Regions from separate parts of the Homo sapiens genome. Here region 1 is linked to region 2. Evidence: promoter capture Hi-C in 16 types of primary human blood cells and fetal thymus (Javierre and others, 2016). All regions are on one chromosome and are shown on one strand. Each heading gives the region's core, a stretch centred on a gene start or on the middle of the fragment in contact. The rest is flanking DNA. Distances are from core to core; before and after follow the strand shown. Region 1 has its middle 41 kb from the start of PPP1R17. Region 2 holds the start of ITPRID1 (ITPR interacting domain containing 1).

What was found. Contacts are between HindIII fragments. The CHiCAGO score rates a contact against its expected background, and 5 or more counts as called.
Region 1: a contact is called between a fragment that was not itself captured here and the fragment with the promoter of ITPRID1 in region 2, in 1 of 17 cell types (monocytes). The highest score is 5.8, in monocytes.

What each region holds. Positions count from the first base shown.
Region 1 is chr7:31,725,329-31,731,803 of GRCh38, reverse strand. It overlaps a transcript of PDE1C not described here. Among named protein-coding and RNA genes, the nearest start is that of PPP1R17, 41 kb to the right of the region's middle. The HindIII fragment of the contact is 2,436 bases long and covers 2,118-4,553 here.
Region 2 is chr7:31,510,134-31,516,598 of GRCh38, reverse strand. ITPRID1 (ITPR interacting domain containing 1) reads right to left here and starts at 2,509. Exons shown (of 15, transcript NM_001257967.3): 1 at 2,479-2,509. The HindIII fragment of the contact is 4,160 bases long and covers 1-4,141 here.

The DNA.
Region 1 (6,475 bases), core at 2,086-4,585, 210 kb before region 2:
GCCACATTGGCTGACGGCAAGAGATTAGCCTGGGGGAAGGTTGGCACCAGACCCGGGTGCTAGTGAAAAGGAACTTCTGGAAATATTCTGCCTGCTGATTGAAAACTGCCAATTCTGGCCAGGCGCAGTGGCTCACGCCTGTCATCTCAGTACTTTGGGAGGCCGAGGAGGGTGGATCACGAGGTCAGGAGTTCGAGACCAGCCTGACCAACATGGTGAAATTCCATCTCTACTAAAAATACAAAAATTAGCCAGGCTAGGATTACGTGCCTGTAATCCCAGCTACTCAGGAGGCTGAGGCAGGAGAATCATTTGAACCGGGGAGGCGGAGGTTGCAGTGAGCTGAGATCACACCACTGCACTCCAGCCTGGGTGACAGAGCGAGACTCTCTCTCTCTCTCAAAAAAAGTGCCAATTCCCTGCCTTTCACCCCAATGTTGTACTTAATGATATTAGGAGGTGGTTCCTAGCCAGTGATTGGCTAGGGCTCCTGAAGAGCTAAATGAACGGGCCAGTTGATCCTCAGCCCCACTTTGGCACCTACACGGGTCCTGCGGGTTCCTGTGAGCTTGGTGAGGTGTGCTTCCTATTTTCCCTGCCCGCCTCCCTCAGGGCTTGATCCCAACATACCACCCCCACCTCCAGCTTCTATGAGCTTCTGCAACAGAAGTCACACGGCATCATTCCTTCTCATGATAACATTCAAAGTCTCTTCTTGATGGGGCAAGGAAGGTCACTTCCCCCTGCACGTAGCTTGGGAACCCGCCCCCCTCTCCATGATTTGCCTATCTGTAAATTTTCTAGTTTGACTCTCCTTCTCTCCTTGTGTCTTCTGATCCAGTAGTTAGATTTTTCTGACTTATTGGGATATTTTAGGTCCATTTTTTGTTGCTTCCTTTGTCTGCAGTGTGCTTTCCTCTTTTGTTCATCCTTCAAACCCTTTTTTCAGACTTGTCATCTTATCTTTACATTTCTTCCATCCACTCACTTCCTTCCAAGCAGAAGAAACCCGACTATCTCATGTGTGACTTCTGTGTCTCCGATGCATAGCCATGGTTGCATTTATTACAGAGGCTTGTGCTTATTTATTGACATGACTGTCTTCCCTGGCTCATCAAGGACAGAAACGACTCAACCTCTATATCTGCAGTACCTAATAAAGTACTTGGCACAGAGTAGGATTCACTTTCCAACCGGAAAAATAAAAAGGCATTTAGTAAATGTTTATTTAACTGAGTTAACCTGGAGGCCTGCTTTTCTTTCCCATACTGCACAGGGGCAATTCTCAGATGGATGGAATCAGATCAGACTGAGACAAACACCCTGGTTAGTTTCCAGTGGGGAGGTTAGAGAGGCTGAGATGTAGTGGAAGGGTGGCTGGGATGACACTGCAGAGCACGAGTGGCCCTGAGGTGACCCTGGAAGTCTGGTGCAGGAATGAGGAGACGGCAGAGGGAAGAGAGCAGAAACTGAACCTGAGAGCTGAGATGGAGGTCAGCATTCCTGAAATATGTCTTTTGAGCTGAAAGGCTGACATCTGGGTATGTGAGTGTGTGTGTCTGTGCTGTGTAGGTTTGTGCAACACAGTATCTATTGGTGAACTACCTAATTAGTGTAAACACGTTCGCAGCTACCAAGAGGAATATGATGGGAAAGGACGGTAAACCAAGACTGAATTAACGTCTAGGGGAATCAGATGCTTTAAATGCATGATCTCACTTACTCGTCAGATCAACCAGGTGAGGAAGGTGCATCAAATCATTGTATAGATGGAGACATGGATGCTAAGAGAGGTAGAGTAACTTGCCACAGAAGACATAGCTAGTGAGTGACGGGGCTGATACTTGTACCCCATGAGTCTCATTCCAAAGTTCCCTGTTATACCACGTGTCCTTCCTGGAAGTATATTTGGCCCCTCAAATTGTGTCTTCATGCTTTGTCTACAGAAGGCTCCTGAGAATAGTTTAAAATATTTTGCTTCCCCAAGTGGACTCAATCAGAAAAACTTGCCCCAAGTAGTTACAGATCCTGGGTTAAAGGGAGAAGATCTCTCAAGATTCAACACTAACCCCAAACCCACTTCATTACCTGACCCTGATTCCTTACTGGACTAAGCTTACAATTTGGGCCTGGTGTGCAGTCAACATTCTCAGTGTGAATCAGGTAGGTTGTAGCCCTGCCTTTCTCCAATACACTTGATGTGAGTGGCTCTTCCTTGAGAGAAACAGGTGAGTCACCTACTAGGTACTTTAGATTCAGAGTCAGCAGGTAATGCTGAAGTTAAATTTACTGCTATTGTTAAATTTAAAAAGGTAAAATGCAATGCAACTGGGAAAATAGGTTTTACACAATGCAAGACGTTTTGCTTTTTTCCTCTCACTGGGTCCTCAGTAAGTGCCCCCTCTTCAGGCTTGTGCTATATTAACAGTTGAGTTTTTGTAAGATTTGTGACTACTTCCAGAGCAGAGCCTTCGATAAAGAGCAAATGGAATTCATGTAAGCTAAGCTAACCTCACACAAGGCTCATCACTGTGGTTCTCTGAGCAGGGTATTTCCCAGAACGGCCCAAGTGGAAGAACAAAGAAACAAAACTTTTACTGAAAATCTTTTATTGTTTATTTTGTGCTTTTTAAAATGTCAGGCCTGGTGCTAAAAACTTACGCATTTGTTTTTACATTTGGTCCTCGTAATAACCTAACACAGCCTGTATTTATCATTTATATTTTTCTGATGGGGAGGCAAGGCTCCAAAGAGGTAAAGACACCTGCCTAAGGTCCAATATCATCTGCACTATGCAGCCAGAAATTGAACCAGTTCTACCTGATTACAAGGCAAGAAGTCTGGGCTCTAGACTGGAAAGATTTAGCCCCATTGGGTGCAGAATATATTCTTTCACTTCCACCCCTCTTTGTACTTACTCAGCCTTAGCTCTAAAATGTTCTCTTTCTTCTTTCCATACTCTCTTTCTTTGCTAAATTACTAAAACAAAGCTCAAATGTCACCTCTGTGAGTTCCTCTAAGACTTCCCTGGCAGGACTTAACTCTACCTCCTGCTTTTGGGGTTCCAGGACTGACATATATTTAACTCTAGGCAGAGTAGGCTGTCAATATTTGCATGACAGCCTCCTCCAGGATGGTGTGAACTCAGGGAAGGCTGGAATCATGTCTTATTTTATCTCTATATCCTCAGTACTCGGAAAACAATCCACAAATACCTGAGGAATGAGGGAATAAACACATGAATGAATATAAGTTCTAGAACTTAGGAATAGAAAACTGGCTATAAAGACTATGAAATAGCTTCCAAAACAGCATAGGCAAAAACAGAGGGGGATAAAACAAATGTTGCGTTTCTCTTACTTTGGGTATTTGGTTGGCCGGGAATGACTCTTATTAGCCAATGGAAGAAACAGGTTCATGTCTCCCTGGGACTGATTGGTTGCACCTTATGGGCCTGGTTGTCTTCACCCATTAGAGAAATGCTGGCTTGTTTTCTTTCCCAGAGGACAAATGGCAGCTCTAGGCTCCCTTGGGCCCACAGGTTCTAGGATTAGTACCTACAGGACCTACGCACCCAAAGCACTTAGGAAGGATCCTTGTCCGCAGTGGCCTGAGAGACTTGAGTGCAAGATGGTTTCAGAGAACCTCAGCATGGCTGAGAACTGCTCACAGGATTTACCCCATGTTGGGTCCCTATAATCTCAGTGACTATAAATCAACCTTAAGTGGATATCACATAAAACTTTTATTTATTTATTTTGAGAAGGAGTCTTGCTCTGTCACCCAAGCTGGAGTGGAGTGGTGAGATCTCAGCTCACTACAACCTCTGCTTCCCAGGTTCAAGCGATTCTCCTGCCTCAGCCTCCCAAGTAGTGAGGAATATAGGTGCATGCCACCACGCCCGGCTAATTTTTTTGTATTTTTAGTAAAGACGAGGTTTCACTATGTTATCCAGGCTGGTCTTGAACTCCTGACCTCAAGTGATCCTCCTGCCTGGGCCTCCCAAACTGCTGTGATTATAGGCATGAGCCACCGTGCCCAGCTGAAACTCTTAATTTATTGATTTATATGCACACATCTCCCATTGTAGTCTAAAAAAATTAAAGAAAGCTGTGTTTAGAGTCAGGAAATCTTTGTCTTGAACCTGATATTAGATAGTTATTGATTTTGGACTAGTCATTTTCCATCTGTTTCTCAGTTTCCTCCTCTATAAAATGAAGAGAGAGACAATATGCATCAAAGGCCTTAAAAATGTCCAACTATTTGTCTTGGGAATTCTATTAATTTTACCTGAGGAAATCACCAGAAATATTTATGTAAGAAGGTGCATGTCACAGTGGTATTTACAAAATGGAGAACCTGAAGGATAACTGAAGGTCTATCATTAGAGTCAAATGAACTATGGGCCATTCATTGAATGGAACATAATGCAACTATTAAAAAGGAGAATGAAGATGCATGTGCCATAGCTCAGTTGAATGTTTATAATCTTGTTTCAATGCCCTCCAGCAAAAGGCCACCAGAAACACACTTGTAGTTGAACAAGCTAAGCTTATTACTCATTGCAGCAAGGGAGAATGGGCACCACAGAGAACTGTGGGGCGTCTCAGTAAGGTGTTAGAAAGGACTTACAGAATTTGGGCTTGTGATGAATTATTTGGAAAGGGCTTTGAGGACTATGGCTTTGTTCTGAATTGGATGCTGCCAGAAAATAAGGGGAATTCTAAGACTGAGCATCTTTTTTTGTTAATTTTTTTTTTCTTTTTTGAGACAGAGTTTTGCTCTTGTTGCCCAGGCTGGAGGGCAATGGCATGATCTTGGCTCACTGCAACCTCCACCTCCCGGGTTCAAGTGATTCTCCTGCCTCAGGCCTCCCGAATAGCTGGGGATTACAGGCACCTGCCATCACACCCAGCTAATTTTCTGTATTTTTAGTAGAGATGAGACTTCATCCTGTTGGCCTGTTTGGTCTCGAACTCCTGACCTCAGGTGATCCACCTGCCTCAGCCTCCCAAAATGTAGGGATTACAGGCATGAGCCACTGTGCCTGGCCACATCTTAATAAATCTTACCTAGGAGGGAAGACTAGACTGAAGCTAAAGCTGTAATTGATAGAGAAACAACAGTCACTCATATTGGCCAAGATGAGGGATACTTTCTTTGGTTATTTTGTGGTTTGGAGAATGTTTGTGTTTTGTCTGTGATCAGACATGACTACGAATGGTCTTATTTCTGTTTAGGTCCATATCATGGACACAGAGTGGCCTTGTCTGACGGTTGTGTTCTGTGAAATTGTTCCTGTTCAGCAGGAGAATGCCAAGGCCTGCTTGTGAATGCCTGGCCAGCCCCCAATATAAGAGGCTGCTGTTTTCTTTCTCAATTGTTAATTTTAAAAGCCATAATACAAAATTAAATATACAAAAGTACAATATTAAGAGTATTATTTTGCTAGGTGCAGTGGCTCCCACCTATAATCCCAGCACTTTGGGAGGCCAGTGTATGATGATCACTTGAGTTCAAGACAAGCTTGGGCAACATACCAAGACCCCATCTCTACAAAATTAAAAAAAAAATGATCATGTTGGTGCACACCTGCAGTCCTAACTTCTTGGGAGATTAAAGCGGGAGAAATGCTTGGGTCCAAGAGTTTGAGGCTACAGTCAGCTATGATCATTCCAGTGGACGCCAGCCAAGGCAATGGAGTGAGACCCTATTTCTATAAAAGACAAACAAAAAGAGTATTATTTTTAACTCTGTAAAAGTCACGTGAAAACAAATACACCAAAATGTATACCATCATCAAATTCATGAAGTAGAAGTAAGCATAATTTGTTCTACTTTTGTTTTTCTTCCTATTTTTTGGGATTTTTCTCTCTCTCTTTTTTAAAACAGACTTTGCTTCTGTAAGAAAAAGTAACCTGTAAAGGGTAGTTAGATATAACTCTAAATCTAGTAAGAACAAACAAACCAAAAAATAGAAGGCATTAAACTTGATTATCTCCCATCCTTTTTAAAAAACTTTAATTTTGAGATAATTGTGGATACATAAGCAGCTGTAAGAAGTAATATGAGAAAATCCCATATACCCTTCACCCAGTTTCCCCCAGTGGTAACATCTTGCATAGCTATAGTACCTTATCACACTAGGAACCTGGCACTGATAACAATCCAATCCCTTTTTACTTCAACATTCAAAGATTGTTGATGAGTGTTCCCTCACTCCTGATGGACAGTCCTTAGAACCAAATGGACAAAGTGATCTGCTAGCATTTCATAATTTGGTAGACAAACATCACCATCCCAGGGTCTATGTTTGGGGTGAGCTCAGGAAGTTCTCAGTTGTAGCTCTCCTTTTGGTAAGAAATGCCCCATTTAGCTGCCACAAGTTTTTCATGCCAAAAAAGTTGGTTGGGTCTCATCCTTTTGATGGTCTTTTACCAGAAATTGCAATAAATCATGTTGTGAGGACTCATTT
Region 2 (6,465 bases), core at 1,260-3,759:
TTCAAATCTGGGTGCTGCCAACTATTATCTGTGTCTGTTAGAGCAAGCCGTTTCTCTTCCTGAGCTATGGCATCTCTAACTCAGCCACATTGTCTACTACCCTCCCTGGGATTTCTCTGAGATTTGCGGGATATCAAGGGTGTTTTAAATTAGACAGTAAGAGTCATAATTGAATTTTGTACATGTAGTTGAAATAATAAACAAGATTGTATAATTTGGGTCAGCTTTTTATAGAGTCTAAGGTTTGATATATTAGTTCTTTTCTCTGAAAATATTTTCCATATTTCCCAGAACCAATAGTACACACATACATACATACACATGCACACACACGCAGAAACCTTCAACAAACCTAAATGTGCAATAAGACATCCAGGTGATTATGCACATTATATACTGTGTTTTACAAAGAGGGTTTATTATTAATCTTCTAGCCTTATTCTCTTTCCTTTCCTCACCCAATCCTATGTGTCTCTGTGATTCACTGAAATTCGTCCAAGTTGGGCATTAATACCATATTTATTTATTAACCATTAATGTGGTTAATACCATATTTAATTTGCTGCAAGGTCAATGTTTAATAACCTAATATTTTGTTGGCAAAAAAAAACTATTATGAAAGGTACAAATATCTAGCCTGTTTCTTCTCCTAACACAGTACTTTTATCATCTTATATGAAACAGAAGCTCAGCCTCGTTAAAACTTCACAACATTTTGGAGAGCTGCTTGTTCCCTGCTCCCTTCATTCTCTTGTTCTCATTCTCTCTTCACATTCCCTCCTTCCATCATTCTTTCTGTAGATAAGAAATATATCATTTTGGCTCATTGCAAACATTTTAAACAATACAATGTGTATAAAATTAAGTGAAAATTCATATCCCTACGTTTTCAATCTTACAATGTAATAATCACATCAAGTTGTTGCCAATCCTTGTCCTCTGGGCTTTTTCACGTACTGGACATCATGGTATGTCCAAGTAGATACATTTGACTCTTTTTTGTTTTGTTTTGTTTTGTTTTTTGAGACGGAGTTTTGCTCTTGTTGTCCAGGCTGGAATGCAATGGTGATATCTCAGCTCACTGCAAACTCTGCCTCTCAGGTTCAAGCGATTCTCCTGTCTCAGCCTCCTGAGTAGCTGTGATTACAGGCATGCACCACCACACCCAGCTAATTTTGTATTTTTAGTAGAGATGGGGTTTCTCCATGTTGGTCAGGCTGGTCTCCATTTGACTTATTTTTAGTGGCTACATACTAGTCCATTGCATGGACATACCACAACTTGTTTCTCTCTGTTTTTTCTTTTTTTTTTTTTAACCACTGCTGTAGAAAGCAGAGCATTTCCCTCATTGCCTTTATAAGTTCATGTATTTTTCTAGTGGAGAAGTAGTGGAAAGGAATGAAAAGGTATTCCTATAACAATTTTTTTAAAAAGCAAAACTTTTCCTCCAAACTCTCCCACTTCTTGATCTCTTGCCTTAGAGGAGTTAGGAAAATGGTCTGGTAAAGTTATGAGTTAGCTATATATTATCCAATAAGAATAGATAATTACTAAATCACCACTTTCTTCTCTTCTGTCAATTCCCCTAAAATTGTTACTGAAATGGGCCAGGCTCTCAGGTCTGAACCAGGAGAAGTGAGAGGGAGCTGTGAATGACTTAATAAAGGTACCTGCTAAAAACACAATTGCTTTTATTTTATATATATTATGTAAAATATTAACCTTTATATATTACATAAAATTCATGTTTATAGTATATATAAAGCAATTTATATATCTATTTGTGTATATATATGTGCAAATATGCTATCTAGTCTGGTTGGAACATTCAATTTCATTAGTATTTAACACATCTTATTCATTAGCAACATATATCTGTTAAAGTTGAAGTACCAACATACTATTCTGACTTGTGGCATTTTGCAAATTATACTGGAGCGATATCCTCACACAAAAATATTACTAGCTGAAAACTAGAAATGGAGCAACACCGTGCTTATAAGCTGTACTTACCTGCTGGACTCTCTCTCTCCCTCATTCCCTGGAATTGGCTAGCTCTCAAAACCACAATATTTAATTGTCAATTATTAGCCCCCACAACTCCAGATTAGCTTTTTTCTCCTCTGCCCCCATCCAGGAAATGGCCAATACTCAATATTCCTTCTTACATTTCAACTCCTTTATCACCAACAGCATTTAACATTATTTTATTTGATTCTAACAACTTCAGTCTGATCAATTTCACCTGCATTTAAAGGAAGCCTATTAGCTAGGTTACAATCTAGAGGGAGAGAAGAAGGTAAACGTTTTGTGTCCCTTTTTTGAAATGATCATGGAGAATATTTAGGTTCCTAGAGCACACACATACAAAAGTTTTTGATAAACAGTCTTACCTTCCTTAGTTGGAGGAGGGGACAAGCAATGTTTATCCCTCAAAGCAGATGATCATGAAAGCCCCCTCCAGCAGCCTCTACCCACCTGCCACAAAAGCTCCACTCCTGAGCCATCTGAAAGTTCCTGAAGGAAACAGTGTAGCATTTGACTAATCTTGCATAACATTTTCATAATCCACACCCATTGTCCTAAGGAAAAACCTGTTTTCCTCATCCAAAGGGATCAGGAAACAATCAAAACAGAAGCCTGCGACAGAATGGCACCTTCAGACAACTAAATCAGACTGAAAGAGACTTCCAGCATTCACGGACCCTCAGGATTTTATAAGCTCTACTTCATGCCAGACACTCGTCTGGAAAAAGGAGATGTGAAGATGAACAAATTGCTTTCCTCTCCCCCTAAGAACGTGCAGCCTTTTAGGGCCACAAGTGTAAAAACAACTAGTAACTTCCGTGGAGGAATATTGAGGCCACAGAGGGAGAGGTGATGAGTTATCCATAGGGAATTTGGGAAGCCCTCTCCCAGGGGATAATGCCTGTGATGAGTTTTGAAGCACGAATAGGAACTTTCCTGATGAACGAGGGTTGAATAGGGTTGGGGCTGTGGGGAGGACATTGAAGGCAAACAGAGCACCATATACAAGATGCACAAAATTAGCCAACAGAATGGTACATTCAGGGAATTGTGAAGAAGTCTGTGTGGCTGAAACATAGACTATATGGAAACAAAAGAGAGAGATGAGACTGAAGAAGCAGAAGTGTTGTCTGATGGGCTAACTTATGACTTAGAAAATAATAACTGTGATGGGGGTATTATAATGATTCTACACTTTAGTGTCTGAATGCAGCATATTGTTTGTAATTGAGAACGAGAAGCATTGGTGGAAGTAGTTTAATGTATATCTAATTGTTCTGTGTGCTCAGAAAATGGGTGGTCTGGTTAATCAAATGACCTAGCTTGAGTGAAGACACTGATTACCAACTTCCAAATAATTAGAATCATTAAAATACATTAAATGTTAAGGCTGTCATTACTGCACATTAATATTCCTTTCACAATTCAAAAGGATGTTCAATACTTTAGAACGGTTCAGGCCTGTTATCAGTGTGAATGTCATTCACCTATCATTAGTGTGAGTATCATCCTGCCTAAGGACACAGGCGATTGCTAACAAGGTCTGAGGAGGAGGTGAGCTTAGGGTTCTCCTATTTGAGAAAACCACTTGCGTTTGAGAGTGTTTTTATACCTTCATGTGCTGGGAACCCTCCTGACAGATTGAATTTGGGCCAGTGTAATAAATGAAGCACTATTCTAATAATGTTAATACAAACAAATAATCAAAAGAAATCTCATCTCCCCATGTGATCTCAGCAACATATGGTCTTGCGGTTGAATCTTGGCAAGTTAATTGTCATAAGAACCCTGAAAGGAAGACAGAATGAATTGGTAATTTTATTCCTAGGTCAGACCTCCATCCTTATTTCCCTGTTCCCACAAACTGGCAAACACTTGAAAGAGCAAGTATGTTCTATTGTTAACATTTCTTCCTCCAGCGAAGTCGCATTAATGACTATAATTTGCTCTATTACTACTGGCTTTGAAGTTTCATTAAGTGGTTTTATATCTATTATTTTGTTATGCTTTGTTTTGTTTTGTTTCGTTTTGTTTCTAAAGACCTGTGGGATACCTCGAGCAGGAATCTTGTTTTGTTTTCTCCCCTACATTTAACATGTCAGAAGCTAAAGCTTAAGAGAGGTGACTTTCTTTGCCCAAGGTCACATGACCTGAACTACAACTCATGTTTCTATCTTCAAGCCTGAATATCCTTGTGTAAGATCATAGTGCCTTGAGCACATTTCCTTAAAATAGAGTCATCCAAAAACAGTAAATTGTACTGTTGGTCTCCAGGAAATCCTGACCAGTTTCCATAGCTTCCCAGTGAATATCTTTTTTATAAGATCATAGTGCCTTGAGCACATTTCCTTACAATAGTGTTGTCCACAGACAGTAAATTGTACTGTTGGTCCCCAGAAAATCCTAACCAATTTCCACAGCCTCCCAGTGACTGTTAGATGATCCAGTGCCCATCTTCCTTAGCCTTCTCTAATGTCCTGACCAGATCATTAGAGACAGGTTGTTTAAAACTTGGCTTGCTTCCTTTCACCTTGACTTTGACTTCTCTTGCTTTCACCTAGTTTTCCCAGGTTCTGTCTCTTGGATCTACTTGGACTCCTCCTCTCTAGTAGCAACCTGAAATATCATGTCTCTTTTGGATGGCCTGTTTGTCCTGAATTTGCTTCTTCTATCAGTATTGCTTTTTTGATCATTTCTAGGAAGACTATGGACTACAGGCCATGAAATAAGTGATATCGTAATCTTATTTCTGGCCCAGTGCCATGCTCAGCATCTCAACCTTCCAGTCACCTGTCAGAGAGATTTTGTCACTGGGGGATATAGGCATAAAGCCAACATCCCCCAAATAACATGGACAGGTATAAAGCTTTTCCACTGTACACCAGTAAAGGGGACAGTTGAACCCTCACTGCATCTACTTCCTGCTTTATGAGCCAGAAGCAAACAATAAGACCCATCATCCACTAGGTTAGCACCAAGATGAGCATCATGGGGCAGGTCAGTCCAAAAGGACTATTTACCCAAGGTAGACTGGATGGATAGTGTAAAAATCGAAATCCTAATCAAGAGGAACCAAAGCCATACCTATGAATACAATGTAGAATGTCATGTCTAAGGATCAAGATGAAGGTTCTAAGGAATATGGGGTCCAGTATGGTGGGACTGAGACCTGCTGCTATAGGACCCAGGTCAGGACAGGAGACATGTAAACAATAAGGAGTAACTTGCTTTTGGCTTTGGGATTAATTATGGATGCAGGCATGATACAGAGGGCACAGACAACCAAATACAGAGATCCGTGAGTAGCCATCTGTAAGACAAAGACAAAAAGCAGAAAAAGGAAAGGAAGTACTTGAAAGAGGAAATGGTAGGCAGTGGAAAGGAGGATGAAAAAGAATAGCAAAAACTCTGGTTTAATAAAATCAGGGCTCCACCCTCATCCAGCCACACTGAGCTGGTCACACCTTCCCAGATTCTCTGCTCTATCTTGCCTCCATGACTTTGCATGCACTTTTCCTTCTGCTTGACACTTTCCTGGTTGGTCCACTTGAAAAATTCCTAAGTATTGGTGCAAAAGCAATTGCGGTTTTGGACTGTGAATTTTAAATCATTATAACTAGGCTCAAGCACATCTTTGTTAATCAAAATACGAACTATTCCCATCAACACATTTTTGTCAATAAGAAAATTTGTTTATTCCGGTAGCATAAAAATCCATGCTTCAGGATTCGATGAACTCTTGGAAGGCATTTTCTGCATCTTTCTGGTTGTGGAAGCGTTTTCTCTGCAAAAACTGTTGACGTGCTTGAAGAAGTGGTAGTCTGTTGGTGAGAGGTCAGGTGAATATGGCGGATGAGGCAAAAACTTCGTGGCCAAGTTGGTTAAACTTTTGAAGTGTTGGTTGTGTGACATGCAGTTGGGTGTTGTGGAGAAGAATTGGGTCCTTTCTGTTGACCAGTGCTGACTGCAGGCCTTGCAGTTTTCCATGCATCTAATCTATTTGCTGAGCATACTTCTCAGATATAATGGTTTCGCAGGGAATCAGAAAGCTATAGTGGATCAGGCCAGCAGCAGACCACACAACAGTGACCATGACCTTTTGTTAATGCAAGTTTGGCTTTGGGAAGTGCTTTGGAGCTTCTTCTCAGTCCAGCCACTGAGCTTGTCATCACTGGTTGTCTATAAAATCCACTTTTCATTGCACGTCACAATCCTATCAAGAAATGGTTTGTTGTTGTTGTGTAGAATAAGAGAAGGCAATGCTTCAAAATGATGATTTTTTACATTTTCCCTCAGCTCATCAGGTACCCACTTATTGAGCTTTTTCACCTTTCCAATTTGCTTCAAATGCTGAATGCCCATAGCATGGTTGACCTTGAGTTCTTTGTCAACTTCTCGGTAGTTGTAAGAGGATCAGCTTTGATGATTGCTCTCAAT